Regions from separate parts of the Homo sapiens genome. Here all the other regions are linked to region 2. The links are contacts of gene promoters, found by promoter capture Hi-C in blood cells and fetal thymus (Javierre and others, 2016). All regions are on one chromosome and are shown on one strand. The core of a region is centred on a gene start or on the middle of the fragment in contact, and the rest is flanking DNA. Distances in the headings are between cores, read along the strand shown. Region 1 has its middle 590 kb from the start of TLE1. Region 2 holds the start of TLE1 (TLE family member 1, transcriptional corepressor). Region 3 overlaps LOC107987087 (a long non-coding RNA gene). Region 4 has its middle 610 kb from the start of TLE1. Region 5 has its middle 570 kb from the start of TLE1. Region 6 has its middle 700 kb from the start of TLE1. Region 7 overlaps LOC107987087 (a long non-coding RNA gene).

Region 1 (2,700 bases), core at 96-2,595, 590 kb after region 2:
CCGCCTAGGTCTCCCAAAGTACTGGGATTACAGGCATGAGCTACCGCGCCCCGCCGGTAGTAATGATATTTATTTGTTTTCATCTTCAGAACAGCATTACCAGGGTTAGCCTTCTTTTGAAAAGTTTTTAAATTTGTCAGAAGATTTATGTTGAAATCACAATGAGCCTTTTCCAGATCTTGCCTTTTTAAAATATATGGTACCCCAATTCATTCTCCAGATCCTGTACCCTTTTTATATACTCTATCTTTGTTATGGATATGCATTTCATATACTGATCTAGGTAGCTCAGGATGTTTCATAGACTATTAACCACAATTCTTATCTTGCTCTCTGAGGTTATGGGCCTTATACTACCATACTCATTTAGTCCCATATCACTTCAAGTTTCTTCTTGCTTAGCACACATTGCTCCCCAATTGAAAAAGACACTGCCCAGGCTCAGGGGCAGACAAAATCCTGTTCTTCCGTATCTTTTTCTATTCTTTTATCTTATAAAAGAATATGAATTATCTTATCTTATATGAAATAGCTTATAAAATATTTCAAACATACAGAAAATATAAAGATAATTTAAAGAAAATTCATGTCCTTTCTACCTATTTGACTTCAGAAAATTTTAACTTTTTTTGACTCAGATCTTTTCTTTAAGCAAACAAAAACAGATATTTTAACCAACAAAAATGTCCATGATGTACAGTAGAAGACCTGTATTCACTCTCATCTCTTATTGGCCCCAGACAAAGGCAATTACTTTCCTAAACTTGGCAAATAAAATCCCCAAGCATGCTTTCGTACAAAGATTTCATTTGTACTGCTATACTTATGATAATCTATGTTATTACATAAAGCTTTATTTCATTAATCTTTACTGTTGCATCCATATGGAAAACATCCATAATATGAATATGTTCTACTTATTTAACCAATCTTTAACCTATGTGGAGGACTACCTGGGGGTGTACACCTAGAAGTGGAAGAGCTGGCTTGAAAGGCATGTACACCTTCCAACTTGACTAGATTATTCTCTAATGTAATTGAATTCTTTTAGACTACTTAGAATAAATAAGAAGTCTGTTTTCCCTATGCTTACCAGTACTGAGTATTTTATCCAGTCATTTAATACTTACTGAGTGTTCCCATGAAACAAATACTGTTCTGTGTGCTGAAGATGCAACAAGGAAAAAATCAAAGATTTCTGCCTTCATGGAGGGGTTTTTATCATATTTAAAAAAGTTTTGTCATTGTCGTGCGTGAAATGGTAGCTGTTAGTTGTTTCATCTTGTATGTCTCAGACTAACTGTCAGGTTAAGTATTTGTTCATATTTTTGTCCATTCTGTGAATTGCTTAATGGTATCTTTAATCACTTCCAAATATTGGTAGTAAGTTTCTTACTTATACAAAAGTTTTTGTTTTTCAATGTTCTAAGCCTTCATCAGTTAGGCCTTTGCAAATTTTTGCTTCTAGTCAATAAGTAAAGTTATACTTTGTTTATGGAGCCATTATTGAAATGAAATAACTTGATATTCATTTACTTGATTTTGTTAGTTGATTCTTAAAGATTTGTGCTTTTTGTTTGTAACAACATTCTTCAGAGCAACAGCTTTGGGTATATAAATTCTTTGGCATTTTTTTGTTTTCTATTTGTATTAATCTCTGTTCTTTTTTCAATTTTTTTTATTCTTTCTATATTATTTAGTTTTTTATTTAAATTTTTAATTTACTGAGTTGAACAATGACTCATTAATTTTGTCTTTCCAAGTTTTGAAATAAATGTCAGTATTTATTTAGAAGTTTTTTCCGTATAAACTCTGCTTCAGTTTTATCTTATAAGCTTTGATGGTTGTAAATAAATATTTAGAAATTTTTATTGTAATTTCCTCATTAACTTATGAGTCACTTAGGAATCCATTTTTAATTTCTAAAACATATTGAGTGTTTTCAACTGTCTTGTTTACTCTCATTGAAATTGCCTATGACTGATGATCATTTTCACCATAACATTCAAAGAAAATTATTAAAACATCCTTTGTCACCTTGTACATGCTAATTTTTAATGCTCTATGTATATATGAGAACAATATTTTCTTGTAAAGGATAATCTTTGATTCATGTTTCTACTTACTAAATCTTAGTTTTTGAGTATCTTAAAATCTCTTTATTGTGTATTTATTCATAAATAAAACTGTACCTAAGAATAAAATTTCAAGCTGTCATTTTTTTCTCTGCACTTAGAAACAATGGCTTCATTGATTTCAGACATCTCTTACTACTGTTAGTTTGTCAATTCTTCATTAACAAAATGCATTTTCCCTAGTAGCTTTTAAAATTTTTCTCTTTATTCTTCATGTTTATGATACAAAATATCTAGATATAGAATTATATTTATTATTATTTTTTGTTGTCAGACTATTAATCTGAAAACATTTTTGTTCAAATTGGGTAATCCTAAATTTTTGTCTTTTCAGTATGACTTCTCGGTCATTTACTTTATATTCCTTTGCTAGAGTTTCTATTAATTGTATGTCTGAGCCCCTTAATTTCTCCTTCATTTTGCTTGCTTTTTCTTATATTTAAGTTTTTTTCTTTAGCCTTTTCTCGTTAGCTTTATTTTTATCTTTTCATTTGTTCCTCATGTTTTCTCTATTATTTTTAACATATTAGTCATAGTTACCTTAAAATCCATGTCTGCTAATCTT
Region 2 (2,700 bases), core at 179-2,678:
CTGTGTATTTAGAGACATACACAAAAACCAAAGACTCTCAGCATTAATTATACAGCATGTCTTGATTATTACAATCTCAAAATCCCTTTTAACTCAAGTTCCACTTCATAAGAACCTTAGCCACGTCATTTACCTAACTCTTCCCATTTAGCTCTTCACACAGCTCAGCTCAGGAGTACCACCCAGACTGTGGGGGTGGGGTGTGCGGGACAGGTTTTTCAGGTCTCAGTGCTGGTTTATTACATTGTCTCTCTTTGTTCCCAGGAATTGGAAACAGACTCGTAGTCTTGTAGCTGAGAAGTTCCTAAAAACCTCAGCCGCTCCCCACCTCTCCCAACACAGCGAAGTCAGGACTTTTAAGACGAAGACCTGGGATTTCGCGCCCCGGGCAAAACGTCTCATCTGCGGACACGCGTGCCTTGTTCTGGCAGCACCCTGGGAATCCTTCCCGCCAAACGGGACAGGACGATCTTTTTGAAAAGTGGCTTGAAATCCTGCAATAAAAATCAAATCCTACCACTTTGGGTGCAAAGGGGGTGGGTGGGGTGGGAGGACATCACAGTCGTCTTTGCTGGTGTACCTACGCCAACCGTGGCGTTGCTCATTTACGCATTTCCAACTAAGTGCACAGTCCACTCCCTCTCGTACATCCGTAAAAAGGCAGCTCAAGGAAAAACAAACCTCAGATAAATTTTTGAATGTGGCCTCACTTTTAGAGTAGCATCAAACAAGGGGTCCAGCACTGAAAAACACATTTGCTCGAATTACCAAAAGCCCCCCTCCGCCTCCAATAAGAAACTCCGCAGCTAGTCTTTGAGTTACTTTCACTTAGATCTGAGGATTTTCATTAAAGGGAAAAGTGAGCAAGTGGCAGGATTTTTGCTAACTCGAGCCCTCAGCTTCCCCGGCTGCACGCTCGCCAGTCCCTCCCGCTAGCGCGCGCCCGCGCGCTCTCTAGCCAGCCCCACGTTACTTTGATTGACAGCCCAGCCCCGCCGCTCTCCTTCCCACCGACCTTCCCATCATCAGTGCCAATCTCCGCGAATCGCCGCTTCCCATTGGCTGGTTTTGGCGTCCCGCGGCTCCTCCAGGAACAGTTCCTCACCAAGCCCGGGAGGACGCGGCTGGCGGAGGAGGGGCCGGGATGGGAAGGGAGACCGAGGAGACGGCGGAGATGGAAGCGAGAGGAGGGGGGGAGGGAGAACGCCCCGTCCGGCGCTGCGCTGCCATACGCTCCGGGGAGGAGCGCGTCAGCGCCCCACGTTGGTTGCAGCGCACGCGATTGGCTGATGCGGGCCTTCTGCCCCCCCCCCACCCCCCAACCTCCCGGGCTCACGTCCCCCGCCGGCTCCGCGCTCGCGCCCCCCGCCCGAACGGGGCTGGGCGGGGCCGGCGCTGGTTAGCTCCGGAGTGTGAAACCGCGTGTTAATGTAAGCGGCGCGAGAGGCGCGGGCGGCGGCGGCGGTGGGAGCGGCGGCTGCAGAAGCAGCAGCAGCAGAAACAGCGGCGGGTACTCTGTGCCCCGCGTCCCGGAGGCAGCCGACTGCGCCACCCCACCCTCGCACGGCCGGGCGGGACCCGCGCCACCAGCCCGGACCTCCGTCGTCCCGCGGCGACCAAAACCCCCGCTGGCCCCACCGCTGTGACTACTCTGGACTCGCCCGCAGAGTTTGCCCGCCGGGGAGGGTGGCCGATTGGCGGAGCGCACTCCTGCTGTTTTCCCCACCATCTCGTGGATGTCGTCCCTCGGGTGGTGAGAGAACTTTGCAGTGGGCTGGAGCGCCCTTTGCGGAGAAGCACACGAAGGTGAAGGAAGGAAAGAAAGAAGACCGAGGAAGAAGGAGCTCGGAAGAAGGGTCCGGAGCGGCCGGTCCGGCCGTGCAGGGCGAGTGCGCCCGAGGCGCGGCGCCCTGATGCTCCCCGGGCTCGAGGAGCATTGGGCACTTGCGGGACTGCTCTCGGTGGAGTAGCCCCGTCGGGCCCGGAGGGTTTGTGCAACCGCGGAGAACACCGAGTGCTGGTCGCACGGGGCGTGCCGAGCCGCCTCCCGGCGCGCCCTCCGCACTTTCCCCGCCTCGTCATCCGTCGCTCCCCGGCCAGGAGCCTCCGCTGCGTCTTCAACCTCGCTCCCCTTTGCGTCCCGGGAGCCTGCGAGCACCCGGCCGAAGGCGCAGCCGAATCTTGCGGGAGTCGCCCCGAAAGCGTCGGGTTTGTGTGGGGTTAGCGGGGGCCGCCGCGCCACCTGCACCTCGCCCGCCGCCGCCTCGGGGAAAGCCCGAAGAGGAGGCGGACCAGGAGAAGAGCAAAGAAAAGCAGTCCGTCTGGATTTGTTTGCCCAGGACTGGCGCCGCGCACGCGGATCGCCGAGGGGAGTGCGGTCGGAGTCACCGCGCCCCCGCCTCCCCGCCCGGGCAGCTGAGGCCGGGGGTTGGAGCGCTGCCCCCGCGCACAGTCCCCGAGCGCCCGACGTCTCCGCGCAGGTTCTTGAAGCAGCTGGGCCTGGGGCGCCCACTAATGTGGCCCTGAGGGCCGGAGCCCGCACCGACGGGAGCGGGAGCCGGAGCAGCTGCGGGCGCCGAGTGGCCGGTGCGCCCGGCGGAGCGCGCGTGCGTGGCCAGCGCGCTCCCCGCTTCTGCTTGGCTTTCCGGCTTAATTTTCCTCGGCGGGATTAAAGTTGGAAATTGACCGGAGAATTGAGTT
Region 3 (2,700 bases), core at 63-2,562, 920 kb before region 2:
TCTATTCATCCATTTGGTCGGCAAACATTATTTGAGTATCTACAAAAGTGCTAGGTGTTTTACTGCACCTTTGCCCACCTGGAACTCATTGTCTACTAGGAAAGACAACATGTAGACTCTTTTGTTCTTATTGTTCCTGGTGCCTCAGAAATAAAAGTGACCTTGTGCTTTCTTTGACCCGTGAGCATTCCTGCCTGAGAGAAACGTTTTCAGGAGATGTCTTTCCAAACCTTGTATGATTTTGTCTACTCTCGAACTACTCCAACTTCCCCGCTCCCCATCCAATGATGTTTCTTCCCTCTTCATTGTTTATACCTAAAGAAATTGTTAAAGAAAAGGCCTTGGAAAAAAAAAAAGTGCATCGACAGTTAAGCATGATTTTTTTTTTTTAATGGGGAATGCACTCCTGGATTCTAACTCTTTGACACAAAAGACAGTGGTGAAGATCAAATGGGGTGATGCCCTTGAAGCATTATGCTCTCCATAAAGCACCATATAGATGTAAGGGATTATCATATTGTTACAAATATTTCGAAGAAAATGAATGCCCAGGTTGGTGATGTTCTTCCCCCAAAGGCTTGCTCACTATTGTGTAGACACAATCTTCATTCGCTATACTAAGTCAGCACCTCATGCTGTGACTTTTCTTGCATCTCCCCAGGAATGCCATATTTTAAAATGACTATTATACCATGTCATGTAGCTGCAGACCCCTAGCTGCCTCCATTTCTCTACCTGGAAGGTTAATCAAATGTAAGCATTTCCCTATTCTGTAGCAGGCATCCTGGGACATACAATTTGGGATTAGTGACTGACCCTGCTGTTCATTCTGACAGCACACACTCCAGATTGCATTCTCCTTTTAATAAGCAGAGCTGGTAGGAGAAAAGGCAAGAGTCATTAACTAAAAGTTAGCTGAGGATTGAAACACAGCACACTTTGCTTCTGAGAAGCTCTTCTGAAAGGAAACCTTTTGTCCCCAGGAACCATGTAACAGTATATCCAAGGATTTCATGATAATTTATCTTGACCTTTAGCAAAATGAAATCTTATACAATGGCTGGGTCACATATACTTTCTTGGTCACTTATCTGTTACTATATTGCTGCCATTGTTGAAGAGAATGAGCTCAGGAGAGTCACAACGGCTTATGCAATAAGCTTTTTTTACGGAGTACCATGACATACTCAAAATGTGAAGGATTAAACTTAACAGCCTAGAAGGCAGTTGCCAGGGATTCATATTTGAAACCTTTCTTGTGAGGCTACAGGTGCAACTGAGAAGTATTTCTGTGAAGGCACCTTCCTCTTCTCTTTATTCCTATTCCTGCTTTCTTGCCCCAGGGCCAAAGGTAGACATTTTCTCTCCCTCTTGGAGTCTTGGTTTCTGGGTTGCTTGATCTTATTGTGGTAAGGACACTGTGTACCAGCCCAAGGTTGGGTGACTGGAGTGTTTTTAAGCTTCTTGCTACTCAAGTAGTCTCATTCCATGCCTAGTAATATATGTTTCCCTACTTTTTTTTTTCAGGTTGATTTTTTTTTTTTTTTTTTTTTGCAGCATGATGAAAGTGAGCAAATTACTTTATATACAGTGTGAGCTAATGAGAATATTTCTAAAGAATTCAATTTAATCATGATCAATAGCTAGAGGGGTAGACAAATTCTGATCCCAGGATCAGGCAGCTGGGATGGAAAGGACAGAGCTTCCATCTATGGTTTTAAAGTTTGTGCCCTGAGCGGCTTCAAGGCATTCCTAGAGTTATGCGGTGTCTACTTGCACGGATGTACAAGGTATCCTTGTACATCTTATACTTCCCTTGTTTAGTCAGGGAAATACAGAAAGGTCAACCTTTGACTACCTTCTCTACATGTTTCATGGTCTTTCCATCATATGACTTCATCTAACATCTTTTCATCATCAAGACTGCTGTGTCAACATATTACAAAAGAGAAATGATTGGAAAATTGTTGTTTTGAAGAATATGCTTTGAGGTAGTGTGGTAGGCAGAATCCCCAAAGATATCCACACCTTAATCCTCAGCACCTGTGAATATGTTATCTTACATGGAAAAAGTGATTAAGCTAAGAATCTTGAGATGAGGAGATTTCCCTGGATTATCTAGCTGGGTCTAATTTAATCACGAGCCCTTAAAGGTAGTTTTCACAGATGTGGTCAGAGAGAGATATGACAACAGATGAAGAGTCAGAGAGATGTTACCATGCTGACTTTGAAGATGGAGGAAAAGACCATGAGCCAAGCAATGTGGGCAGCCTCTAGGAGTTGGAAAAGGCAAGGAAATGGATTTTCCCCTAGAACCTCCTGAAGAAATGCAGCATTGCTGATGGCTTGATATATAGGGCTATATTGTAGTAAATATGTGTTGTTTTAAGCCACTAAGTTTGTAACAATTTAGAACAGTAGCAATAGGAAACTAATACAGGTAGCAACCCTTCCCTCTTAATCTACTCCTCTCTTTCCTCTCTCAGCCCTCCAAGTGCTCCTGCAGATGATTAACTTAGTTTACACATCAGGACCAAAAAAGAGAATGGTTTCCAGCAGGGGTCAAGAAGGGGTAGGAACCAGATCATAAATCCTACTGTTATAGCAGGAAAATAGCTAGAAGTAATATGTAAATGAACGGGTGTGGCTGCATTCCAATAAAACTTTATTTACAGACACAGGAGGTTCACCATCGGGTCG
Region 4 (2,700 bases), core at 57-2,556, 610 kb after region 2:
CTCCACTCCCTTAAATCTTTTTCTAACTTTCCAATATTGTTCTGCATATGTATGCCCATGGAAGATACTCTGGTTCTCCCATAGTTTATACTGGAAGAAAGTTGAGCCTTTTGCTAGATGTAGTTCTTCTCTGTTCTTAGAGCATACAGTAGATCATTGAGTTTCTCTTCTCTTTCAGCAATTTAATTTCACATTTATTCCTTCGGCATTGCCTGAACTTGCTCGCTGCTTTCACTAGAATGGTAAGTATATTGTACTATGCTACAATATGCCTTTTAATAATGTTTTCTCTTTTTTAAAAAGGGTGACAAAATGAAAGAATGCTCAGATATCAGTATCTCCAATGGAAAAAATTAGAGTTCTTTCTGTTTTTTCCTGAATCCTTGTTATGGAGTTCTTTCTAGAATTCCATGTCCAACATCTATACATGGATCAGAAAGTAGCATTAATGAATTAGCAGGCAGGTATTTGAGAAAGAACATTCTGGAGCTCACTCCCTACTCACACCTTCATCTATAGTCAAGTGGCTACTTGTTTCTCCTTGGGAGAGATCTTTTCAGGGAAATGTTCTGTCAAAGGCCTTCTCTTGTTTCTCCTTTCCCCTACCATGACCCATGGTGCAGGTGAGTCTAGAACATCAGGAGGTCCTGCACTTTTTCTTTTCCTCCTTGCTCTCTTGCCCTTTATTCTTTCGCAGATTTCCGTATCTTGCTTTAGTTCCTCAGATTTGTCCTGACAATTCTGCTGCTGCTCCTGAAGATTTCAACTTTCCCCAAGTTCTTCATCATCTGCTACCACTCAGTGACATTTACTCCAATGCTTCTCTTCTGCTTTTCAGCAGTTGCTCCTGTAATGCAATCTCCATTTCCCCAATTATTTTTCTGTGTAAATTCTTTACCTAAACATGCTACTCAAGTTTAGCTCACTAGGTTTCCATGTAGCTCATTGTTTCCTGTTTGCTAGGGGGAAGTATTTTCATAGCTCATATTTATTCTGAAAAATAGCATGGACACTGTGCAAAAATATAGATTTAAGAAGCCAGGGGTCAGAGTCTCCTTGTGTCTGTCTTTTCTATTGTGCTTACTATGGGTAATCACAAAGTCTTCCAATAAGTAGGACTGGTTGACTAGGTGGAGATTGCAGGAAGGAAGATGCTCTTGGCAGTGGATAGGATAGGATTTACGCAATGAAATGTCTAAACTTGTTTCTCAGCCAGAGATAACTTGAGTGTTTTATCATACATTTAAGTTTAACTTTTTATTGTTTATTCGATTTGAGTTAAAGTAAAATGATGGCTCATCAATTTTGTAATACACCAGTGTTTTTAGCAATGGCTCTTATTCTGAAGTCTACAGCAGCAGACCACAACAGCTGAGAACTTGGCTGTTGAAGTCAAACCAAATTGGATTCTAAAAACCCTGCTTTACCACTTACTAGGTATGTGGACAAGGCAAGTTATTCATCCTTTCTGGGACTTAGTTTTCCACTATATCAAGTAGGAATAATGATACCTCCTTCCAATGCTATAAGGAATCGAACGATACAAATAAACCTAAAAGTTTTTGTGCCGCTTATTCCAAAAAGTGACTGGAGGAATATGCTTGGTATGGTTAAAAAAAAAACCCTACATTATAAGGTAGCTGCAAAAATCACTTTAGGGAACCTTGGGAGAAATACAGATAGCCAGTCTTTCTCCAGAGCAGCTTTTACTGAGATTCAGTGAACAGGCCTGTTTGACTTCCTATAAAGAGAAATATGTTATATATACTAAGATGCTGGGAGCAATGCAAACAATCAGTAATTTAAAATAGAAGCCCTAAATTAAAGTTACAATGGCAAGCACTCCTACTTGCAGATGCTTATTTATGCTTGAGCAGCTTGTCACAAGAACAATTTCACGTAACTTCCTCAAGATAAGTGGCCTGGAGTTATTAATTTCATGAGTCTTCTCAGAAGGGCTGAAGAGGCCAAGCCAGATAGTGTGAGCTCTCTCTAAAGTGTTAACACAATGTCCAGCATATAGAAAATGTCTTCCCACAATTGTAGCTATGATTATGTTTGGTTAATGTAAGGGCTTCAAGGGGTACATTAATACATTGTGAAATTATATGCCGATTATTCATCATATGTATTTTTCTAAGGGCTGGAACACATGTTTAATCAGATTCTTACATGGTTCTTAATCAGTAAGCATAGAGAGATGTTTTAGATTCTGTCCCAAATGTGAAATCAACCCAGAGTTTCTGTTCATCTTTGATGGTGTCTTGGGGCTAGGGTTAAACCAATGGATCTTCATTTCAGTTTCAGAGTAAAGAAAGGCCATGTGCATGTAGAAATGAGCTTAGCAATCTTGAAACTGGCCTGAAACTGAAGGATGTTTACAGGTAAACATGTAATATATCTGCTAGCTTTGGGCCAAGCTAATAGCCTCCTCCTGGTGGATCCAGGCACCACAAAAACCATTTAGTTGTTCTGTGGATTAACTATGTCCAGGTTTCTTCCTTACTTGATGATCCTTGAAGCTGTCCCTTCATGGATGCTGGTAATTGCCAATGGTTAATTGGTGAGCCTTATAGTCTTTTTTGGTGCCCTGCAATACCAAAAACCTTTTCTTTGAGACAGTGTCTAATGATTCCAAAATGTGAAACCTTCCTTGTCTTTGAAAACTCAAATTATAGTTCATTCTATCAATGGTCACTC
Region 5 (2,700 bases), core at 10-2,509, 570 kb after region 2:
TAGTAAGTTCCCCAAAGAACTCTGAATACTTTCAGCAAGAGAATATGCAGTGGATGCTAGGAAGCCACAAAAGCAACAGCTGACCTCTACAAGGTCATTGCAAGTCTTGGGACTTAAAATTTGCTATTATAATATTTAAACATTACAAGGGTAGAAGAGATGTTATAGAGAGGGACCAAGTTCAGTCTAAACTGAAGTGCCTGAACCTGATTTAGATTATAAGCCTTTAGAAAATATTATAGGGTATATCTACATAATTCTCCTTAAGTGACCTTTTGCAAAGCCAAGTACATTCAGAGACCTAATCAACTTGTCATGCTCTTGCAGCTTATCAGAGAATTCTAACTTCAATGGCTAAATACTGGGCCCATTGCTAGGGGTAGAGATACAAATAAGACATGCTCTGACTTCAAATAATTCTAAGTCTGGCATGGGGGAAATGAGAAATGCTTGCAACTTGCTATGATGCAGAGGTATAGATGCCTCCTTGCAGAATGAATAAAGAGGCATCACAGGAAAAAGAGATTCACTCTTCTTGGAGGTGCTGAGGAATGCTCAATGGAGAAGATGACTTTTGAAGTAGATCTTATAGAAATGGCTATTTTTGTTTCTTCTGAGTTAAGGGAAGGACAATGGGAATTCTAGATAGAAAAACTGCAGTAGATGTATGGAGATCTGGAAAGGTTGAGGAGGGTGCACGGGGAGTGGAGCAAGCTCATGGGTATGAGCATGAAGGGAGTGGATAGCAAATGAGTCTAGCCAGTGAAGGGGATGCTATTGTAAGGATTTGGGACTTTACATTGAATAAAAGATTAGGCATTGATGATTTCTGGATCAGGATGCTGTGTTGGGATCCATAGATTAAAGAGGGGGGACATAGACTGGCGGGGAAGATAGATCTGAGGTTATCACAGTAAGCCCAGGAGACATGTTGGAGGGCTGCAGTGAGGCACGGACATTTTTCAGGCTTAATCAGTAAGAAATGGGACTGACTTGATATAAGGGGAACAGAGAAAACTCAAAACATGCTGATTGTTTCTAGCTCTGTTCATAGGGTCACGATTATATTAAATAGGAAAAGAGAGACAGATTTGGCGAGAAGCAAATGAGATTGGTAAGATACACATTGGTTAAAAATGTGTAAGCTCTTAAGATTTTTAACTCATTCTCACCTATCAGGTCTGGGCTGGTTGTTTCCCCAAATATTACCATGTCAGTAATAAACATAAAAGATCACACCCAGCAAGCAGGTAATAAACACACATAACCTTCATCCTCTACAATGCCTTGCTCAGATGGCTCTCCCGTGGTGGGAGATAGGGGTGTATACTTGAGAAAAGACCAATGCCTGGGCAGCCCAAGATAGATGTCTAATAAACAAAAAAGACCTAATATGATCTAAGCTATGGCGTCCACTTGCTAGACCGGGCAAGCTGACTTTATTACAGACTGCTGTAGGTTATTAAGGTAGACAGTGACAGATCATTTTGTAAGGCCCAGAGAGAGCCAGATCCATCTGCCTAGAAAAACAAATAAATCCCAGTTCAGAACTGAGGTTAAAAAAGATTTACAAGGCGCACTGATGCATGTGCCCCTCTCTGGGTGGGTTGTGGTGGCCGGCCACGGGGGTTGCCCTCATTGGTTCAACACAGCCTGCCATCTGGGGAGACAGCAAGCTCTTGGGCTCATATTACAAGGCATTTTCCCATTTCCTTTTCTATGGTCTAGCTTCGGCAGAAAAAATGGACAACAGGCTGGAGGAGGATAAAAAATAAACAAGAGAGGGAAAAGAGTCTCTCTCTGAGCAATCTTATAAAACAAAGCATAAATCTTTAACTGCCTGACCTTTCAGCTCACATGATTCTTGGTGCAGGAGGGATAAATCAGAGCTCATCTGGAGGCTCAGGGGAGGGCAGCTTTCTGCCTTCCAACAGGAAGCAGCCTATTTGCGGAAAGCACATAGGTGTGTCCTTGTTTTTAATAGAAGCTCAATTGATTTCCTAGAAATTGAAATGTTCCCTTGGTTGGGAAATGAAATTTCTACTTGGCCGTTCCACCTCTGGCCACCTCTTGGTGGCAGGTCTTATTGCATATTGCTGGAATTAACAGAGAAAGGCCAAGTAAAAGGTCTTGGGGGCAGACTTCCTCATAACAGGGAGCCCCTCTCCTAGATGCAAATAAAACTGGCAAAGGTTGAGGGTTTTGCAGATGCAACTCCCTGCAGTATGGTGAAGGGCGTTTCATTAACCCTTCTTGTGCTGATCTCCAACTTGCCTGTCTTGTGTTCCTGTGTTGTCATCATGGCGCATAACTACTCCATTAGAGCCAAGGGTCAGCTCCTGGTTTCAGCAACACAGCAGATATTTTCTATCTGACGGCTTTGGTGCTCTTGACTGCAGCCAGCCCCTTCATCACAGCAACCAGAGTAACATTTACACAAATACTTGTTTCTTTAATATGTGGGGAAAGGAGTGTGCTTTTTCTTAGCTAGCTGACAATCATTGTGATAAACAGGTTTCTCCATGTAAGAGAAATTTTTCTTTTTTACTTTTTATCCAGGGAGGGTGGTGGTGGTGACTAGAAACAGAAAAAGGATAAATTATTAGCTTCAAGAAAGCATCAGGAACCAGATTTTGCTGTTAAAGCCCACCTCAGTTCATAGAACCAAAGGTGTATTTTGATGATTTTTTCTCTTTTTGG
Region 6 (2,700 bases), core at 159-2,658, 700 kb after region 2:
GGATTGAGTTGTGTCACCCTAAACTTCATATGTTGAAGTCCTAACCTCCAAAGCAACTATATCTGGAGAGAGGGTCTTTAGGAGGCAATTAAGCTTAAATGAGGCCATAAGGGTGGGCCTCTAATATAGGACTGTGGCTTTATAAGAGGAGGACAATCTCTCTTTCTTTCTTTTTCTCTCTCTCTGTCTCTCTCTTTCTGCCATTTGAGGACACAACAAGAAAGCAGCCATCTACAAGCCAGGAAGAGAGCCCCAACCAGAACTCACCCTAATCTTGGTCATCCACCCTCCAGACCTGTGAGGAAGTAAATTTTTGTTGTATAAGCCACCTAGTCTATGGTATTTTGTTAGGGCAGTTCAAACTGACTATAATACAGATGATTATAGTCAACCGCTATAATTATAGCAGTTTTTTACATAATAGCCCCAACCTGGAAATAACCAGGATGTCTTTCAATAGGTGAATGGTTAAATAAACTGCGGTACATCTATACCATAAAAAATTTCTGAGCATTAAAAAAAAACCCCAAAGTATTGATACAAGGAACAACTTCACTGAATCCTCAGAGATCCATCCTGGAGTGATGGAGAATGTGCTGTGTTTTCAACGTATCGATGTCAATATCCTACTGTGATATTGTGCTATAATTTCTCAAGATGTTACCATTAGGGGAAACTGAGTAAAAAGTATATGGATCTTTTGGTATTCAACTTCAAGTGAAGCAACAATTATCTCAAAATAGTTTAGTTTTTAAAAATCTATACAACTTATTCAAGATATTATAAAAAGAAATACATCTGCTTTTGTCCACTCTGTCTCTCTCTTTCTGCCATTTGAGGACACAACAAGAAAGCAGCCTATACTATAATAATGTCTACCTTTCCTAATTGTTTGATAGGTTTAAAGTGTTTACAACTTCATTTGAATTACATTTTATTTTGATTATTATAAAGTTTGCTTGTGTAAGAAAACAGCTGAAAAACATTTTTTTAAACTCTTTTTGTATTTCAATAGGTTTTTGGAGAACAGGTCATGTTTGGTTACGTGAATAAGATCTGTTTGGTTTTTTTTTTTTTTTTTTGAGACAAAGTCTCACTCACTCTGTTGCCCAGGCTGGAGTACAGTGGTGCAATCTCAGCTCACTGCAACTTCTGCCTCCTGGGTTCAAGCGATTTTCCTGCCTCAGCCTCCTTAGTAGCTGGGATTACAGGCACACACCACCACATCCAGCTAATTTTTGTATTTTTTGGTAGAGACAGAGTTTCACCATATTGACCAGGCTGGTCTCGAACTCCTGACCTCAAGTAATCCGTCTGCCTCAGCCTCCAGGCATGAGCTACCACGTCCAGCCTGGTTACATGAATAAGTTCTTTAGTGGTGATTTCTGAGATTTTGGTGCACCCATCACCTGAGCAGTGGAAAGTGTACCCAACGTGTAGTATTTTATTCCTCACCCCCTCCCACTCTTTCCCCCAAGTCCCCAAAGTCCGCTGTATCATTCTTATGCCTTTGCATCCTCATAGCTTAGCTCCCACTTATGAGTGAGAACATACGATGTTTGGCAGAAAACAGCTGAAATTGTTTTTAAGAAGTAGGATCATAATATCCATGTTGAAGTATCTAGTAATCAAAGTTGTGTAAGCCTACAAAAATCATACAGAATGGCCATTAAAATCTATAGATTATTCTTGAAATAGATGTATATACACATTTGTATGTGTATGAGTGTGTGTTTGTTTGTGTATATGCTTGGGGTGCCTACAGTCTTTATTGTTTAAAGATTAGTAAGACCAAGTTTAAGGTCTATTGGAATGAAATCTGAGACAAGTGTGAGGCCCTGAATGTTAAAAGAAAAACATAATAATAGTTTCTTCTACCCTAAGTGGAGAGTAGCCTGAGTGGCTAGACTAATAATCTTGTAGAAAGTGATGTGAGATGTCTAAGTGTTAGTTGGGGCAATGAATCGATGGTTTTCAGGAAATGGTGCTTTTGCATGGACTTCTCCATGGTGTGAGGCATATTCTTTGATTAGGTGTTATCAAAGTACTAATGGCAGAAGCAGAGGATAATTAAGGGCTCTAGGAAAAGAGGGATGGTATATACCAACAAGAAAACAACCACCAAGACAATTATATGATATACCTAACAAGAAGGGAGAAGGAATTTTTGATTCCCAGTTGTTTTACTGATCACATTTCCAGAGTTCTGTCCTCAGCTCTCAGTCCCAACCTTCTTGTATAAAAACCTAAGAGGAAGGAGCACTGGATGCATGACATATTACTTAGAAATTCATTCCACTGCAAGACACAGAAAACCTTAAGCAGCACCAACACATGAGGTGATTGATTTCACATTGCAAGAATTCTGGGAGGATAGCCCAGGGTGGAAGTGGTGCTCAAAAAATGTACAGGGACCCCAACTTTTAAGTCAGTTCTTTCACTTTTTCCTATGTTACTCCACCTCCAAATTCATGTGTGTATTTTAGTAAGAAAGAAGTAGGGCAAAGGGCTCACACAAAAGTTACACCAATCTTGGAAAATTTTTATTATGTGTTTTTTTTTCTGAATTTGGCGTATAACAGATAAATATTCTTTACTATGAAACCTTTCTTTTGCAAATGCACATTGATGAAATGGAAATGGAAAATGATAAGAGAAAAATATATTTAAATGACAGCCAAATTAATACAGCTTTGGGCT
Region 7 (2,700 bases), core at 125-2,624, 880 kb before region 2:
GCAAAGATCTAAAGCTATCTATATTCATAGGGGCACCCAACCAGGCCAGGTGAGATAAAAAGCAGAATGAAGGGTGGATTTCTGGAGTTTCAATATGAGGTCAAAGAAGAATACAAAGCTTGTAGCTTAAAGAAGATTGTCTCTACTTTTGCATTGTGCAAGATTATGTAGAAACTGATTACAATACAAAATTATCTGATACTTCCTAATTTCAACAATGCTGCCAGGTCTGACTCTTGGGGAAGCAAAGTAGGTACAATGCACAGTTGCCCTAAACTTTTCTTCCTTCACTGGGGCGCCCAGGCTGCTTTTTAATAAATGGCTCCTTGCTTGGGTACCAGGTGCATTTGCTCAAGGCGCTTCCAAAGAGTTCACCTACCTCACATTAGTCAGCAGCTTGCTATGAGAGAAACCATCACTTTGCCTCACTGAAGGATTATTTAGCCCTTATAAAACACACCACATCTCCCATTATCAACAGGACATTTAATTAGCCCCCACTGATTCACCAAGCAAAGCAACTTGTATGAATTTTTTTGGCTTTTCATTGTGGCTTTAGGATATCCACATACTTCTTGATATTTTGAAAATTTTCATTCCAGTTCCACTCTAAGTTTTCAGAGTAGAAGTGTACATAAGTAAAAAATTTCTTCAGGTAACTGAACAGTACTTTTCAACCATTCATGTGGTATAAACTGAACTACCTACTAGAGAGACTGGGAGGAAGCAGGGAGGGGATCCTTTGCAGAGCAGGGTGTGCACAGAGTGCACTGTGTGCACAGTCACTCAGGATTGCTTTGGAGATGCTTCCAAGGAAACCCTGCTGTTCACCTGCAGTTAGGGCACCTCTCAGCATGCTCTTTAAAGGGTGGCTTTCCTTATCCTTAGGCTGTATCTGAATATGGCTTATATCATGGACTGGATTCCAAAGCAAAAAAGAAAATATTTGCCCATGGGTGAATGCTGATCTTCAACTTCATTTTACTTAGCCTTTGGGCAATTAGACTAATACCTACATTTTATTGTTTAGGGAAAAATTACACCTCTAAAGTCTTTAGTAATAATGCACCTAGATGGACCAAATCCCAAAAAAAGCTTTTCTTTGCCTTACCCTCCAGCATGTTTTGTTTCCAAATTCATATACAGGAGAAAGTTATTAACTAATCCTCTGTGCTAGGAGATTTTATAAATTATCTTAATATTTGGAATTACTCTTTGAAGTAGATATTAGTCCTTCTATAACACCAAATTCAGTTGCTAGCACATAGAATCTCAATACAGAGCGAATGAAGAAAAGCTAAAAAGATAAATGAATGAATTTACAAATGAGTTCAGATAGAGCTAAATGACTTGTTCATGGTTATAGAACTAGTAAGCTGAAGAGCTGGTATTTTAGGTTAAAAAATGGTGGTGGTGAAGCACATATTGCAGACCAGATCTAAGCCAGTTTGCCCATTCAATTTTTTAAGTTATTTTGGTATATACCAGTAGCTTCTGAAGGCTATTAATATGTGGGCTATTGTTTTCTCACAGATTGTATTTATTCATGAAATCAAGTCCTAAGAATAAATTCTGCCATACTTACAAAACACATTTATAATCAAGTGGGTACAATAGCAGTCAGTTGTCACAAAACCATTTATTGGAAGCTTAGTTGTATCTCCCCCTTCTTGTCCTGTTAGAGATTCTGACAAACACCTTATTTGTAAGATGTGCCCCGAAGGCAAGTGCAGCAAATATTTTGACAGGAGAATAACTAATCTACCAGTTGGATCAAGGAACAGAATCATCTATTATAAAGTGGGGAACATAGGACTATAGAAGTTTCAGATGGTGGGGTTGCTCTTAAGGTGTGAAGTTACTGTCTAGAGCTTCCTGTTCCCCATTCACAAGAGGGTAAAGATGCCTGTACAGATGGCAAGCCAATGGCTCCTAAACCATATAGAGTGTGGCAAATGTATGACCTAGTTGTTCTATACCAGTTGCTCCCTTTGCCAGGAACTGCCAAAGCTCTTAAGCTAAAGCCACTACCAGATATGCTCACCCCTTGAAAAAGGCTATGGCCAAGATGCTGGCTTTCCAGCTGGGAGCCTCCAGAGGGTGCCCTCCCCTTTGGCACATCTGTTGGAAAATGACTGTTCTTGGACTGCAGCTGTTTCTCAACCATCATCTACTTTGCTGTACCTATGTCACCCTGGAAATCAGAATAATCCAGAGTAGAAGGAACTACCAGGGTCTCCAAGCTCCTTCTCTTCCTCACTTGGCATTGATCTCTGGAGAACTGGTCCTGATGGAAATCCTGAGGGCAAACCACCTTCTTTTTTTCTCTACACATGATTTGTAGGGTTAGTGATTTGAACTCCCTAAGCAAGGCACACAGTCTTTTTTTTTTTAATATACTTTAAGTTCTAGGGTACATGCGCACAATGTGCAGGTTTGTTACCTATGTATACATGTGCCATGTTGGTGTGCTGCACCCATTAACTCCTCATTTACATTAGGTATACCTCCTAATGCTTTCCGTCCCCACTTCCCCCACACCACAACAGGCCCCGGTGTGTGATGTTCCCCTTCCTGTGTCCAAGTGTTCTCATTGTTCAATTCCCACCTATGAGTGAGAACATGCGGTGTTTGGTTTTTTGTTCTTGCGATAGTTTGCTGAGAATGATGGTTTCCAGCTTCATCCATGGCCCTACAAAG

The links. The method cuts DNA at HindIII sites, captures the fragments that hold promoters and counts their contacts. A CHiCAGO score of 5 or more calls a contact.
Region 1: a contact is called between a fragment that was not itself captured here and the fragment with the promoter of TLE1 in region 2, in 1 of 17 cell types (monocytes). The highest score is 8.5, in monocytes.
Region 3: a contact is called between a fragment that was not itself captured here and the fragment with the promoter of TLE1 in region 2, in 1 of 17 cell types (total B cells). The highest score is 5.1, in total B cells.
Region 4: a fragment that was not itself captured here is called in contact with the fragment with the promoter of TLE1 in region 2 in 1 of 17 cell types (monocytes); the score reaches 7.5 in monocytes.
Region 5: a contact is called between a fragment that was not itself captured here and the fragment with the promoter of TLE1 in region 2, in 2 of 17 cell types (monocytes and fetal thymus). The highest score is 18.3, in monocytes.
Region 6: a fragment that was not itself captured here is called in contact with the fragment with the promoter of TLE1 in region 2 in 1 of 17 cell types (fetal thymus); the score reaches 6.0 in fetal thymus.
Region 7: a contact is called between a fragment that was not itself captured here and the fragment with the promoter of TLE1 in region 2, in 2 of 17 cell types (M1 macrophages and M2 macrophages). The highest score is 5.3, in M1 macrophages.

What each region holds. Positions count from the first base shown.
Region 1 is chr9:81,093,667-81,096,366 of GRCh38, reverse strand. No RefSeq gene overlaps it. Among named protein-coding and RNA genes, the nearest start is that of TLE1, 590 kb to the left of the region's middle. The HindIII fragment of the contact is 984 bases long and covers 854-1,837 here.
Region 2 is chr9:81,688,275-81,690,974 of GRCh38, reverse strand. It overlaps TLE1 (TLE family member 1, transcriptional corepressor), which reads left to right and starts at 1,428. Exons shown (of 20, transcript NM_005077.5): 1 at 1,428-2,700. TLE1-DT (TLE1 divergent transcript) reads right to left here and starts at 1,262. Exons shown (of 4, transcript NR_109772.1): 1 at 1,016-1,262. RefSeq lists silencers at 881-1,030, 1,181-1,530 and an enhancer at 1,403-2,117. The HindIII fragment of the contact is 8,493 bases long and covers 1-2,700 here.
Region 3 is chr9:82,608,603-82,611,302 of GRCh38, reverse strand. The region is part of intron 2 of LOC107987087 (a long non-coding RNA gene); the gene reads right to left. Among named protein-coding and RNA genes, the nearest start is that of RASEF, 450 kb to the left of the region's middle. The HindIII fragment of the contact is 300 bases long and covers 1,163-1,462 here.
Region 4 is chr9:81,077,391-81,080,090 of GRCh38, reverse strand. No RefSeq gene overlaps it. Among named protein-coding and RNA genes, the nearest start is that of TLE1, 610 kb to the left of the region's middle. The HindIII fragment of the contact is 6,440 bases long and covers 1-2,700 here.
Region 5 is chr9:81,115,901-81,118,600 of GRCh38, reverse strand. No RefSeq gene overlaps it. Among named protein-coding and RNA genes, the nearest start is that of TLE1, 570 kb to the left of the region's middle. The HindIII fragment of the contact is 7,791 bases long and covers 1-2,700 here.
Region 6 is chr9:80,989,020-80,991,719 of GRCh38, reverse strand. No RefSeq gene overlaps it. Among named protein-coding and RNA genes, the nearest start is that of TLE1, 700 kb to the left of the region's middle. The HindIII fragment of the contact is 2,625 bases long and covers 96-2,700 here.
Region 7 is chr9:82,569,824-82,572,523 of GRCh38, reverse strand. All of the region lies in intron 2 of LOC107987087 (a long non-coding RNA gene), which reads right to left. All of the region lies in intron 1 of LOC105376110 (a long non-coding RNA gene), which reads left to right. Among named protein-coding and RNA genes, the nearest start is that of RASEF, 490 kb to the left of the region's middle. The HindIII fragment of the contact is 554 bases long and covers 1,098-1,651 here.